Linked DNA regions of Homo sapiens: all the other regions are linked to region 1. The links are contacts of gene promoters, found by promoter capture Hi-C in blood cells and fetal thymus (Javierre and others, 2016). All regions are on one chromosome and are shown on one strand. The core of a region is centred on a gene start or on the middle of the fragment in contact, and the rest is flanking DNA. Distances in the headings are between cores, read along the strand shown.

Evidence for each region. Contacts are between HindIII fragments. The CHiCAGO score rates a contact against its expected background, and 5 or more counts as called.
Region 2: a contact is called between a fragment that was not itself captured here and the fragment with the promoter of SLC22A16 in region 1, in 1 of 17 cell types (M2 macrophages). The highest score is 7.3, in M2 macrophages.
Region 3: a contact is called between a fragment that was not itself captured here and the fragment with the promoter of SLC22A16 in region 1, in 1 of 17 cell types (endothelial precursors). The highest score is 6.8, in endothelial precursors.
Region 4: a contact is called between a fragment that was not itself captured here and the fragment with the promoter of SLC22A16 in region 1, in 1 of 17 cell types (endothelial precursors). The highest score is 5.0, in endothelial precursors.

The regions. Positions count from the first base shown.
Region 1 is chr6:110,475,105-110,478,042 of GRCh38, reverse strand. SLC22A16 (solute carrier family 22 member 16) reads left to right here and starts at 1,430. Exons shown (of 8, transcript NM_033125.4): 1 at 1,430-1,521. The coding sequence starts at 1,469. LOC105377938 (a long non-coding RNA gene) reads right to left here and starts at 2,526. Exons shown (of 2, transcript XR_942860.3): 1 at 2,381-2,526. The HindIII fragment of the contact is 6,876 bases long and covers 1-2,938 here.
Region 2 is chr6:111,227,816-111,230,753 of GRCh38, reverse strand. SLC16A10 (solute carrier family 16 member 10) reads right to left here. Exons shown (of 6, transcript NM_018593.5): 6 at 1-2,938. SLC60A2-DT (SLC60A2 divergent transcript) reads left to right here. Exons shown (of 3, transcript XR_001743807.2): 3 at 2,831-2,938. Among named protein-coding and RNA genes, the nearest start is that of SLC60A2-DT, 30 kb to the left of the region's middle. The HindIII fragment of the contact is 2,317 bases long and covers 259-2,575 here.
Region 3 is chr6:111,211,807-111,214,744 of GRCh38, reverse strand. All of the region lies in intron 4 of SLC16A10 (solute carrier family 16 member 10), which reads right to left. Among named protein-coding and RNA genes, the nearest start is that of SLC60A2-DT, 46 kb to the left of the region's middle. The HindIII fragment of the contact is 551 bases long and covers 1,301-1,851 here.
Region 4 is chr6:111,025,015-111,027,952 of GRCh38, reverse strand. It overlaps RPF2 (ribosome production factor 2 homolog), which reads right to left. Exons shown (of 10, transcript NM_032194.3): 10 at 1-2,550. The coding sequence ends at 2,371. Among named protein-coding and RNA genes, the nearest start is that of RPF2, 44 kb to the right of the region's middle. The HindIII fragment of the contact is 648 bases long and covers 1,243-1,890 here.

The DNA of each region.
Region 1 (2,938 bases), core at 181-2,680:
GCTGTGGACCAGCAATTGACCTTTCTTCCCTAAAGTTCATTCACTTGATACCTTCCAGAAGGAAGGTCACCCCCTGCCTGGGTTGGCTATGGGCCAAACCCCTGCCCACTCCAAAGTGTGGCTTGGAATGCCATGGTCTGCTTATTAAAAATCAGATTTCGGGAGGCCAAGGCGGTCGGATCACGACGTCAGGAAATCGAAATCATCCTGGCTAACACGGTGAAACCCCGTCTCTACTAAAAATACAAAATATTAGCCGGACGTGGTGGCGGGCACCTCCCCGCTACTTGGGAGGCTGAGGCAGGAGAATGGTTTGAACCCGGGAGGTGGAGCTTGCAGTGAGCCGAGATTGCACCACTGCACTCCAGCCTGGGCGACAGAGCGAGACTCCGTCTCAAAAAAAAAAAAAAAAAAAAAAAAAAAAAAAAAAAAAAAAATCAGATTCCTGTTCCCCAGGCATCCTGAATCATCAGGGATGGAGTCTCAAAATAAATGTACATTTATTTATTTTTTATTTTTGTATAGACGAGGTGTCGCTATACGTTGCCCAGGCTGGTCTCAAACTCCTTGGCTCCAGCAATCCTCCTGCCTCGGCCTCCCAAAGCACTGGGATTATAGGCCTGAGCCACCACGCCGGCCTAATTGTACTTTTATTTTTTTGAGACGGAGTTTCACTCTTGTTCCTCAGGCTGGAGTGCAATGGCACGATCTTGGCTCACCGCAACCTCCGTCTCCAGGGTTCAAGCGATTCTTCTGCCTCAGCCTCCCGAGTAGCTGGGATTACAGGCATGTGCCACCACGCCCGGCTAATTTTGTATTTTTAGTGGAGACGGGGTTTCTCCATGTTGGTCAGGCTAGTCTTGAACTCCCGACCTCAGGTGATCCGCCCGCCTCGGCCTCCCAAAGTGCTGGGATTACAGGCGTGAGCAAGTGCGCCCGGCCTTAAATGTACCTTTTAAACCAAGTTCTGCAGTAGATTCTTAGGCATTAAAGTTTGAGAGCCATGTTTCTGAGGGGCGTCATGCTGAAGGCTATATATTCTTGCGGCCCCCGGACCGAGCCTAGCCCTTGCATTCCCACCCTGGGCTCTCTCTCAGCGACAACTTTTCCCAGGCGTCGGGGCTTCCCTCGAGCGTGGCGACCCCGCAGACATGGTGCCAAGAGCCAGGGTGGGCGGCGGGGCGGGTGGGAGAGCGGCGGCGCTGGGGGCGAGGGCACCATGCGACCGCGGGCGCCGGGACCACAGCGCGCCGGGAAGGAGGCCGAGGCGGCAGGAAAAAAGCCGAAGATACTTGGGGGGACCGAGGGGCCAAGCGACGGAGGGAGGAACAGAATACAGCCTCGCGCTGGTCCCGAGCACTGGGACGCGCGGGGAGAGCAGGAGGCCGGGCGGGGAGGTTCGGGGCGGGGCGCGCTACCCGCAGTCCCCGGAGCTCGGCTAACTCGGCGCCCAGTGCACGGCCGCACCATGGGGTCCCGCCACTTCGAGGGGATTTATGACCACGTGGGGCACTTCGGCAGGTATGGGGGAGGGGCCCCGCGGCGCCACGCGGGAGGCGGCGCCGAGGGGTCTGTTTCTTTCCGTTGCGGCGGGGTTCTCGCGCGGCGCTCGCGATCCGAAAACATCTCCACTTCCTCCTCACCCCGCGCAGTCGGGACACGGGCGTCCAGACGCCGGCCCCTAGCTGGGCTTCTCCTCTAGGCCTCTGGCAGCGGGACCTGGCATGGTGAGCAGAGGCGCTGGGCTCGCTCGGAGTGCGCCTGTTGCCGGGCAGGAGGGACCTGGTGCGTGCTCTCCGCGGCAGCAGATGCTGGAGGCATCTGGCTGGAGATCTGGCTCGAGGGGCCAGATCTCACTCGTAGGGGGTGCCTGTGCCTGGCCGCCCGTTTCTCTAATCCGCCGCCACTTCCCTAGACGGCTGCTGCCCAGTTCTGCCCTGCGCCTCCGTAGGGCCTCCCTCTGTGCCTGGCAGGTGTTCCCCAGGGACAACCGTTAGTCAGAGTTGGTTGCCGTTTATTAAAACCTAATACGTGCCAGGTACACTGTACCTGGCGCTTACACATAGTTCTTCATTTGATGTTCACCGGGACCCTGCAAAGGAGGTGTTCAAATCCTTATTTTAGTGATTGGGAAACAAGCTGGCGGGGTCAAGGACTCATAGCCAACGCATGGTGGAACCACGTTTAACCTCCGTACACCCTCTTTTCATTTGTCAAATTGATTTAAAAAATTTAAATTATTCATTCGTTCGTTCACTCATGGACAGAGCTCCTCTATCTGACTCAGAGTGTTTTGAGAGGGGAGGTAGCCGGGTGAGGGGCCATGCAGCGTTATGGCCGGAGATTTGGAGCTGCGTCTCGATCCTGGCCTGCTACTTACCTCTGATATGATTCTGGAGATACTTTGTGTGTCAGTTTCCTATCCAGAAAACGGGAATCAGGCTTAGCAAAGAGATGATGTGGTGCTGTTCTTCAAGGTGGAAGGTTGCATGCGTTTTGGTTTTGATTCCCAGTGTCTGCAAAAAGGAGCTGTTAGGACAGAGGAAACGGGCAGGAAGCCCCAGCTGTTCCCTTCTTCCTCTGCTTGCATCATTGAACGCTGCCTTGTGCCTGGCTCGGTCATAAGCCGTTGGTACATGTTACTTCCTTTAATCTTCACTACAGCCTTATAAGGTTGGTAGTATCACCCTCTTTTCACAGATGAGAAAACCAAGGTTTCTGCCTAAGCACAAATCTAATACTAGCAGGGCAGAATTGGATGCCATTGGATGCCCATCACCTCCACAGCCCACACTCTCAACCATGATGCACTCCTGAGCACGGTTAGGTGACGGCTCCTCAGCTGGGCCAAGCTCTTTATGTATGATCTCATTTCATCCTTCTGGAAGCAGAATAGCACAGAGGTTAAAAGATCAGTTTTAAGGCTGGATGTCTAAGT
Region 2 (2,938 bases), core at 168-2,667, 750 kb before region 1:
ACAATGTCATATTATACTAGGAGATACTTAAAATATCCACACTCTCTTTCAGTAATAACTACAGGGTTCAATTTGTTGTAGCTATAACTTTAAGGCTAAAATAAACTGGTGGAAGAACAAAAGCAAAATGCAACTTTTATCAAGCATTGTGCAATGCCTCTACAATCTTACACATCTCAAACCACATTAAGTTACATCAGAAGTTATTATTAGAGTGATGTTTAATCTCACCCTAATGTAACTTCTGATTAGCAAGCTTCCATTCTCTCTGCCAAATATAACTCATGTTAACGTAGAAAAGTGTTATCATTAGTTACCAGAGCAAATCCAGTGTACTGGATTGTGAATGCATAGTCTTTCTAATTAGGAAAATGAGAGTGTGTATTGTCTTCTTAATTTACATTTATAAAATCCTCATAAAATACAGTTAAGTCAGGGTCTTTTAAAAGAGAAGAATTCAACTGAAACCTGTCATTCTCTAGCCGGGCATGGTGGCTCATGCCTGTAATTCCAGCACTTGGGGAGGCTGAGGCAGGTGGATCACTTAAGGCCAGTCTGGCCAACATGGTGAAACTCCATCTCTACCAAAAATACAAAAATTAGCCGGTGTGGTAGTGGGCACCTGTAGTCCCAGCTACTCAGAAGACTGAGGCACGAGAATCACTTGAGCCCGGGAGGCGGAGGTTGCAGTGAGCTGAGATCGCGCCACTATATGGAGCCTGGCAATAGAGCAAGACTCCATCTCAAAAAAAAAAAAAAAAAAGAAACAAAGAAAGAAAAAGAAACCTGTCATTCTCAATTCATCTGAATCCTACCTACAGAACATTAAAGAGACCCGTATGTCTCGAACTCCTGGCCTCAAGCAATCCGCCTGCCTTGGCCTCCCAAAGTGCTGGGATTACAGGTGTGAGCCACGGCGCCTGGCCAAGGAGACCCATATGTTATTTTACTTAGGTGTTACACAATCAGACCAACGATGGTGCTGAGAGCCCTTGATAAATCATAGACCTGAGATTTGCTGACAGTGACCCAGCCGCAGTACTTATTGTTTATGTTAAATCTGAAAGACAAACAATGATACTTTCAGTGATAAATTTCAAATAATTATAAAAATATAACTGTGCAAATAACTCATTATCCATGTTTTAAGATTGATGACTCTCAAAACTCTGATTTTAGCCTGAAAGTTGCGAAATAGTTTCAAATGTCCAAATGTCTACATAAGCCAGCTCAATAGGAAGCTATTATATATAACTTTTTCACATTGCCTCAAAGTTACAGAATATATTTAAATCCCTCACTTTGTGCTAGAAACATTGACAAGGGACTTTTTCTTTAAAATTATTACCTTGGGAGGTTGTGTTCATTAGAACATTCTCATTTGGTGATCATTTTCTTGTGAGTTTCGTAATTTAAAGTCTTATATGTTAACAAAAATTGCATACCTCTAACTAGATACTGGAACTCAATAATCACTGTATAGGTGAGCTTTTTTCCTCAGTCATGTATATAACATGCAACATGCATAACGTTGCTGGCTGTATACATTTTCTATTGTGTTGTATATTAATATTTTTAAAAGAAAAATAATTTTGAAAGGAACATGAAGTATAGCACCAATCTTGATCTAATAATCTTTGGTAGAAAAAAAAGAGGCACCAACTATACAGTCTGTTCATAGTCCAGGGTCAAAATGCAGCACTATTTTTTTTTTTTTTTTTTTTGAGACAGAGTTTTGCTCTTGTTGCCCAGGCTGGAGTGCTATGGTGCAATCTTGGCTCACTGCAACCTCCACCTCCTGGGTTCAAGCAATTCTCCTGCCTCAGCCTCCCGAGTAGCTGGGATTACAGCATGGAGCCACCACGCCCGGCTAATTTTGTATTTTTGGTAGAGATGGGGTTTCTCCATGTTGGTCAGGCTGGTCTCCAACATCTGACCTCAGGTGATTCGCCTGTCTCGGCCTCCCAAAGTGCTGGGATTACAGGCATGAGTCACCGTGCCCGGCCCAGCACTATTAATAACAAACCCTCCATTCCTGAAATAACATTTCAATATAGACTGAATTATGAAAGATACTTTGACTCATTAGGGAAGATCACAGTAGAAAGGTTTTGTGTTTACACATTTAAAATATTTAACAAACTGACTCTTCTAATGACGGATACTGAAAAATATCTAGTAAAGAATAAAAGTCATACATCACAGGCTCCAAAATAGTATTACCAATCTAATTTGAGTTCTAAGTGTTATTTTATATTGGTAGTTCCTATCGCATACATGTTTAGGGACATTGAACTCCAAAATACTCTTTTTATAGCACTCATATTGAAAGGCAAAGCAACTTCTTTGGGTAGACTGGGTTAACTCCTACACTATTGCCACACTCAAGAACAGCATTTTAAAAAACTCCAGTGAGTCAAAAATTCATTGTCCCAGTCCTTGTTCTACTAGGAAGGAGTGTCTCTTACAGGAGTTTAATGTGTAAGTTGTCAGGTTTGGGCACAGCTGTACAATCTGTCATCACTGATCATCTACCCTCTTGCCAATGAAAACAAAACTTTTTCATAATCAAGCTTCCAGTGTAACTTGAAAAGCCACTGGCGAAGCATTCTAAGTGTTCATTAGAATCTGAGTGTGTCTAATTTAGAATCTAAGTGTATCTAGATTCTGAATTTCTTCAGGTTTTTCTTTGTCAGATCCACAGGCCATATTAGTTGTTATTCCTTTTTTGTTACTTTTACATCCGTTTATCAGAACAAAGCACTTAAGAAATTTTACTGATATTTTGACCCCACTAACAATTTGCACCCCCCTTGCTTTTTAATCCCAGAATCACCATTAGCTCCCTTCTGATGAAGCAGGAGTTGACTCAGCTGGGCTTTCAGCTGGACACGGAAAGCGGAGGTAGATGAATTGTCATGATCAAGTGGGTGTCATC
Region 3 (2,938 bases), core at 327-2,826, 740 kb before region 1:
ATGATTTATGTAGTTATTTAAATGTAAAATTTTTTCATTTTCCTTTAAGACTTGTGTTTATAGAAATTTACACATCTATTCTTTAAGTACTTCTCAGAAAAATACTTTGCTTCTTCCACCTTATTTGTAGCTACTGTAGTGATGCTCTTTCCCAGCAGATGTTAATACCCAGAATCTGGCTAAATGTGGAGGTAAGTAGGTGAGGCTCGTGAGAACGTACCTATTCCTTATATGCAGGGATGCCTGGGCCACAAGGAGCACATGCCGACGCTCGGCAAACTATACATATAGCAGGTTCAATGCTTCATCACTCCCCAGAATAAAGATTGATCCAGGCATCAAATACTGATCTGGTGATGCTGGGACTCAGTGTGAAAGATGAATAAACTTAGTATTACATACAATCTTTTAAAACTTGCTCTCAAACACAGCAGCTCTGGTTAGATTCGAGTAAGGAATTCACAGGCTCCTTATTTTCTCCTAGGCTCTGGCACTGACACTTAATAAGCCAGTGACAGTTTAGATGTCTATATTGCTTTTGTTTTCTTTAAGGAAATATATCATAAATATATAATACTTGTTATAATAGTACAGGCTATAGAAGTATTAACCTTCTATGAGTTAGTGTATGCACATGAGAACAAAAGATTCCTTTTGCTCTTACTTTTCCCATTTCTATCTCAAGGAGAGCATTGCTGGAGAAATGTCAGTTTAGGTTTTGCTCAAGAATCTTAAGTGTAGCTCAAGAGGAAACAATGAGCTGCACCTGAATAAAAGAAGGCATCTTGGAGATAGACATGTAATTGACGTTCCTAAAGTTTAGCCCATATAAAGTCTCCAGACTTTCAGAACCTCTGGCTAGGCACCCAGGACAGAAAACAGTTGGCAACAGAGTTCTGCTGGCCCATCACAAACTAAAGGAAAATGTCAGGCCACACAGCAGGTGGCTGGATTCTTCTGAAGCACACAGAGGCCAGTGTCACTTCGAAGTGCTTCACAGGGAGTCTGTCAACCTTCTCCATGGCACATGGTTACTCTCACTTCTGCCTGATGGAGAAACATGCATTTGATACGTTCACACCCAGTGCCACAGTCTAGATGAGACTGAGTACGGAGCCTCTGATCATTTACTTAGGCTGGGAAGTTGTTAAGTATTTGGATTTACTACTTTGGAAATAGCTTACATTTGATAAAGTATATACCCTCATCCCAAGATATCTTTAGGCAAATGTAAAATGCTAAAATGGAAAATGGAGCAACACTGATCCAATTCATTCTACCTGAACCGGAAGAGGAAGCTTAGGCAGACTGATGGATAGGAAAGTCATTAATATTTCTACATTACAAAAGTAACTCATGAATATATTTTTTAAAATTCAAACCTTAGAGAAATGTACACAGTAATATATGAAAGTCTTCCTACAACCTCTTCTCACTCTCAACCCATGCCCATTCACCTCCTCAGGAATCAACACTTAACAGTTCGGTTTGCATCCTTCCAGAGCGTTCCTGTGCACATGTGTGTGTTGTCTGGGTTGTCTGCTTTATGTGCATGGACATGATGTCCATGCTTCAATATGTCCATGTCACAGAGAAATATGACACAATGGAAAAGTGATCTAAATTCCAAGTTTTCAATTCTTTCATACACAGTTTTAACTTTCAAACCTTTGAAATATTCTCACCCTTCCAAAACACTTATATATTACATTAAAAACACAAATCTGTAGTAATTTAATGGTGACTAGAAACACAGGCCTATAAGATTAAGAAAATAGTAAAAAGATACCACGACACACGTAGCTTCTCCTGTCCCAATAAAGTATATATTCTGGGAACTTTTGCAAAGCTTTTCTTTAACCATTATTATTCTACGTAATGCACTTCAGTCATCTCTTCTGGCAGGAGCAGTAGACTTGACTCAGCATTTTTTTTTATTTTTTTATTTTTTTGAGACAAAGTCTTACTCTGCCACCCAGACTGGTATGCAGTGGCATGATCACAGCTCACTGCAGCCTCAACCTCCCCAGCTCAAGCAATCTTCCCATCTCAATCTCCCAAGTAGCTGGGACTACAGGTGTAGGCCACCATGTCCAGCTAACTTTTTAATTTTTTGTAGAGATGAGGTCTCACTATGTTGCCCAGGCTGGTCTTGCATTCCTGGGGTCAAGGGATCCTTCTGCCTTGGCCTCCCAAAGCGCTGGGATTATAGGCATAAGCTACTGCAACCAACCACTCAATATTTAGAATTATTAGGTTGAAAACACCTGGGACCCAGGACCTTGATGGAAGTTTAAATTCAGAACTCTTAAGCAAAAATGTGAGATAAATTCATAAATTCTTTGTTACCTATAAGCAAAGACTCTAATTCAGGATTAGACCCTAGTCTCCTTTCTTGAGACCTATTCCAAATCAGGATCTGCTTTCAGTATTTAATAAGATATTAAAACATAACAGATGCAAGGATTTATTAATCATCCAGTCTGGGCTAGGCACTTTACATAACCTGCCACCAAGAATCCTCACCACAGCCCTCTGCTGATTCTCAAGTTGGTGGTAGAACTGGGGTGAACTGGCTTCTCACTCCAGAGCCTGTGCTCTTGGGCTCGGCAGCCTCCTAGACTAGGGATTACCATGATCTGAAACTAGACCATGCGGGAGGGCTATGAAGTGTGTCTGTGTCACCAGTGTTCTAGGCCTGGCTGCTACTCAGAACTGGCTTCCAGGGGACAAAGAGGGAAGAGTTGTCACAGCCCCAAGAAGTTGAAAGATGAAAGCAGGGAGCAGGTATGTCTGAGAAAACACACCACCAATGAATGGAAAGAAGGTAAGCCCAGGAGCATTCCAAGCCTTAAAGGATGGGCCAAAAGGCAGAGAGCCAGGGATGGAGAAAAAGGAAGGAACAAACAGGCAGAGCTGGAGTCAACTGCAGCAGAGA
Region 4 (2,938 bases), core at 317-2,816, 550 kb before region 1:
TTTATGTGTGTTGTATTCTAAAGTAAGGACAACTGAAAATCAAGATGTGCTCTCCACAAAAAGTGATATAAATGGCAGCTCAAGAGTTCCAGATAGTACAACACTACAAGGTGTTCTCAACAAAAAGTCTTTGTTAGACTTCAATAATACTATTTGGTACTTCTATCAGCAAATAGGAAGCATTCCAATACTTATTAGATCCTCTACCATCAGACACAGAAATTACCTAGAAAACAGAAATGTATTGCCAAATCTCAAACAAGAGGGCTGATTAAAACAAACAAAAACACCCTTAAGACGTCTCACATACAGAAATCATGGCCATCTTTGGGTTAAGATTGGCTGATTTTCCAGTAGTGCTGGGGTAGGTCTTCCTGATAGAGGGGTCCAGGCATGGCAGGGTCCCGTAAGCGGCTGGTGAGGAGGACCCACTGCTTTGCCTCCTACCAGTGATGAGCGAGGCTTTGGGGAAGGACTATGCGTCCATCACTCCTGATGTTCTTTTCATGGCTCCCCTTCTCAGCTATTGTCCATCTACCTCCAGATGGCAGCAAACGACTTATCTGAGCCCCTTCTTCTCATTTAGATATAAAGTGCAAATGTCTGATTCAGGTACGAGACTGTATGGTCTTTGGTTAAACGTATAATCAAACAAAAAGTATAAATGATACCAGCTCCTTCATTTTTCTGGCAAGAGGAGAGTAACAGCTATCCGGAGAGGACTAGGGAAAGCTAAGGAATGGATTCAAAAGAGAAGGGAAAGGGTAGAAGGTAAAGCTGAGGCTCGAACTTTTGCTTAGTGCCAGCATTGTTGATCTGTAGCTGAGCAAGCTTACATAAAGGCATGTATACACAGGCACGGAGCTCTCTAACATGGAATTGAAGTGAAACCCTGTCTCTACAAAAAATCAGCCAGGCGTGGTGGTGGGTGCCTGTAATCCCAGCTACTCGGGAGGCTGAGGCAGAAGAATGCTTGAACCTGGGAGGTGGAGGTTGCAGTGAACTGAAATCGCGCCACTGCACTCCAGCCTGAGCGACAGAGCGAGACTCTGTCTCAAAAAACAACAAAAAAGAAAGCACTGGTACTTCATGTAACAAATTATGATTTGCGTATGTCTGTACCTTTACAACATTACTGGCACTTGTATAAAGGAGATTCCTTGTCAAGGACTGAATCAAGGAACTTAACACCCTATTCCAGAAAAACAAGTATGCAATACTAGTAGAAGGAAGAAGAAAGCTTCTGTTTTCCTAGGCACAAGGCCTGTCTTCAAGAAACTTTCAAAACAAGTAGTTAGGCTTTGGCTGGCTTCTACACCATCTGCAAACGCCCAGGGCCTTCATGCAACCTTTAGCTACCTAGGGCTACCCAGTACCCTAAAGTGCCCTGCACCTTAAAACTCACCTGTTTTCTCCTTTTTCATTTCTGCCCCTATCAAAACTTCTTTTCTGCCAGGTGCAGTGGACCAACATCTGTAGTTCCGGCTGCTCAGGAAGGTGAAGTGGGAGGATCACTTGAGCCCAGGAATTTGAGTCCAGCCTGGGCAACACAGCAAGACCTCATTGCTTTAAAAAAAAAAAGTAGGGCTCAGTGGCTCATGCCTGTAATCCCAGCTACGTAAGAGGCTCAGGCAGGAGGATTACTTGAGCCCAGGAGTTCAGGGCTGCAGTGAGCTGTGATTGTGCCACTGCACTCCACCCTAGGTGACAGAACAAGACCCCATCTCTTAAAAACAAACCAACCAAAAAACACAGGTTTCGTCTCAGAGAAGCGGGGTGGGCTCTACTTAGTAGTAGAGTCTCTTAAAACAATCAACAGTAGTGTAATTTATCAATAATCAGATAGCAGACATCCCTCTCAGAGATCTATATATTTTCAGCCACAAAGCTTAAAATCTCAAATGTCAACGAGTAGGATTTCAGGCAAAATAAAAGTAGAAAATAAAAATCAGAATGTAGATCCATGTTGGGAGAGGAGGTTAACTTTCCAGGTAATTCATACTGAGATTGTTTACACAGCTCCTGCGGGTCCGGCTTTCTGTGGCTTTCTTTAGCTAAGGCCAGAAATTCAAAAAAATCCCAATGGTTATGGAGATCCCTCCTCACCCATCCATCCACCCAATGAGAAAGAAGAATTTGTGGAGGGCAGGGGATATCACAAGAGAAAATGGCACACCAGGGTGTAATGTCTCAAATAAAAGGCTTACTTTACACTTAATACTAGTATATTACTGTTCATAATAATATATCGTAAAATTATCATGTTATAAAAATATATAATAAGATCTTATAAGAAACTCTGAATGGATTGACGCTTGATAATTCTCTTAAGTAGAACACAATGAAACAGTAGTGGCTGGCTAAGTTCCATCAATTTTTTTTAATTCTTTTTGACTTTTTCTCGTGGTCTTCTGTTATCCTTTCTGCAGGTCGCTTCTTCAACCCCTTCATTTTCCTGGTTTGTAGTTTGCTTAGGTCTTGCTTCTGCATATGAATCCTTCCATAAGTTGTACCAAAAGTATCATGGGAAATATTTTTCTTCTTCTTTGGCTACGATAAAAGAATATGTATATATTTAATGGCCTTCTACTATAATGAGCCAGTAAAAATCTAGTCTGTAACAACTATCTTAGTAGCAATTTCCATTAGTGCCTGCCCCTTCAGTGACACAGTATATAGCCCTATACACTTTTCTTCTCAAACTTAAGTGTGCATACAAATCACTTGGGATCTTGCTAAAATACAGATCCTAATTCAGTATGTCTAGGGTAGGGCCTGATATTCTGCACAATTCCCAGGTAAACTGTCAGGCCACACTTTGAAAAACAAAACTATAAACTACACTAACCACTGTCACACATCAAGAAAATAGCCTGTGTTTAGCTTAAGAAGTTGTGACTATTGTTTCAATTTCTATTGGCATTTTAGAGATTACATT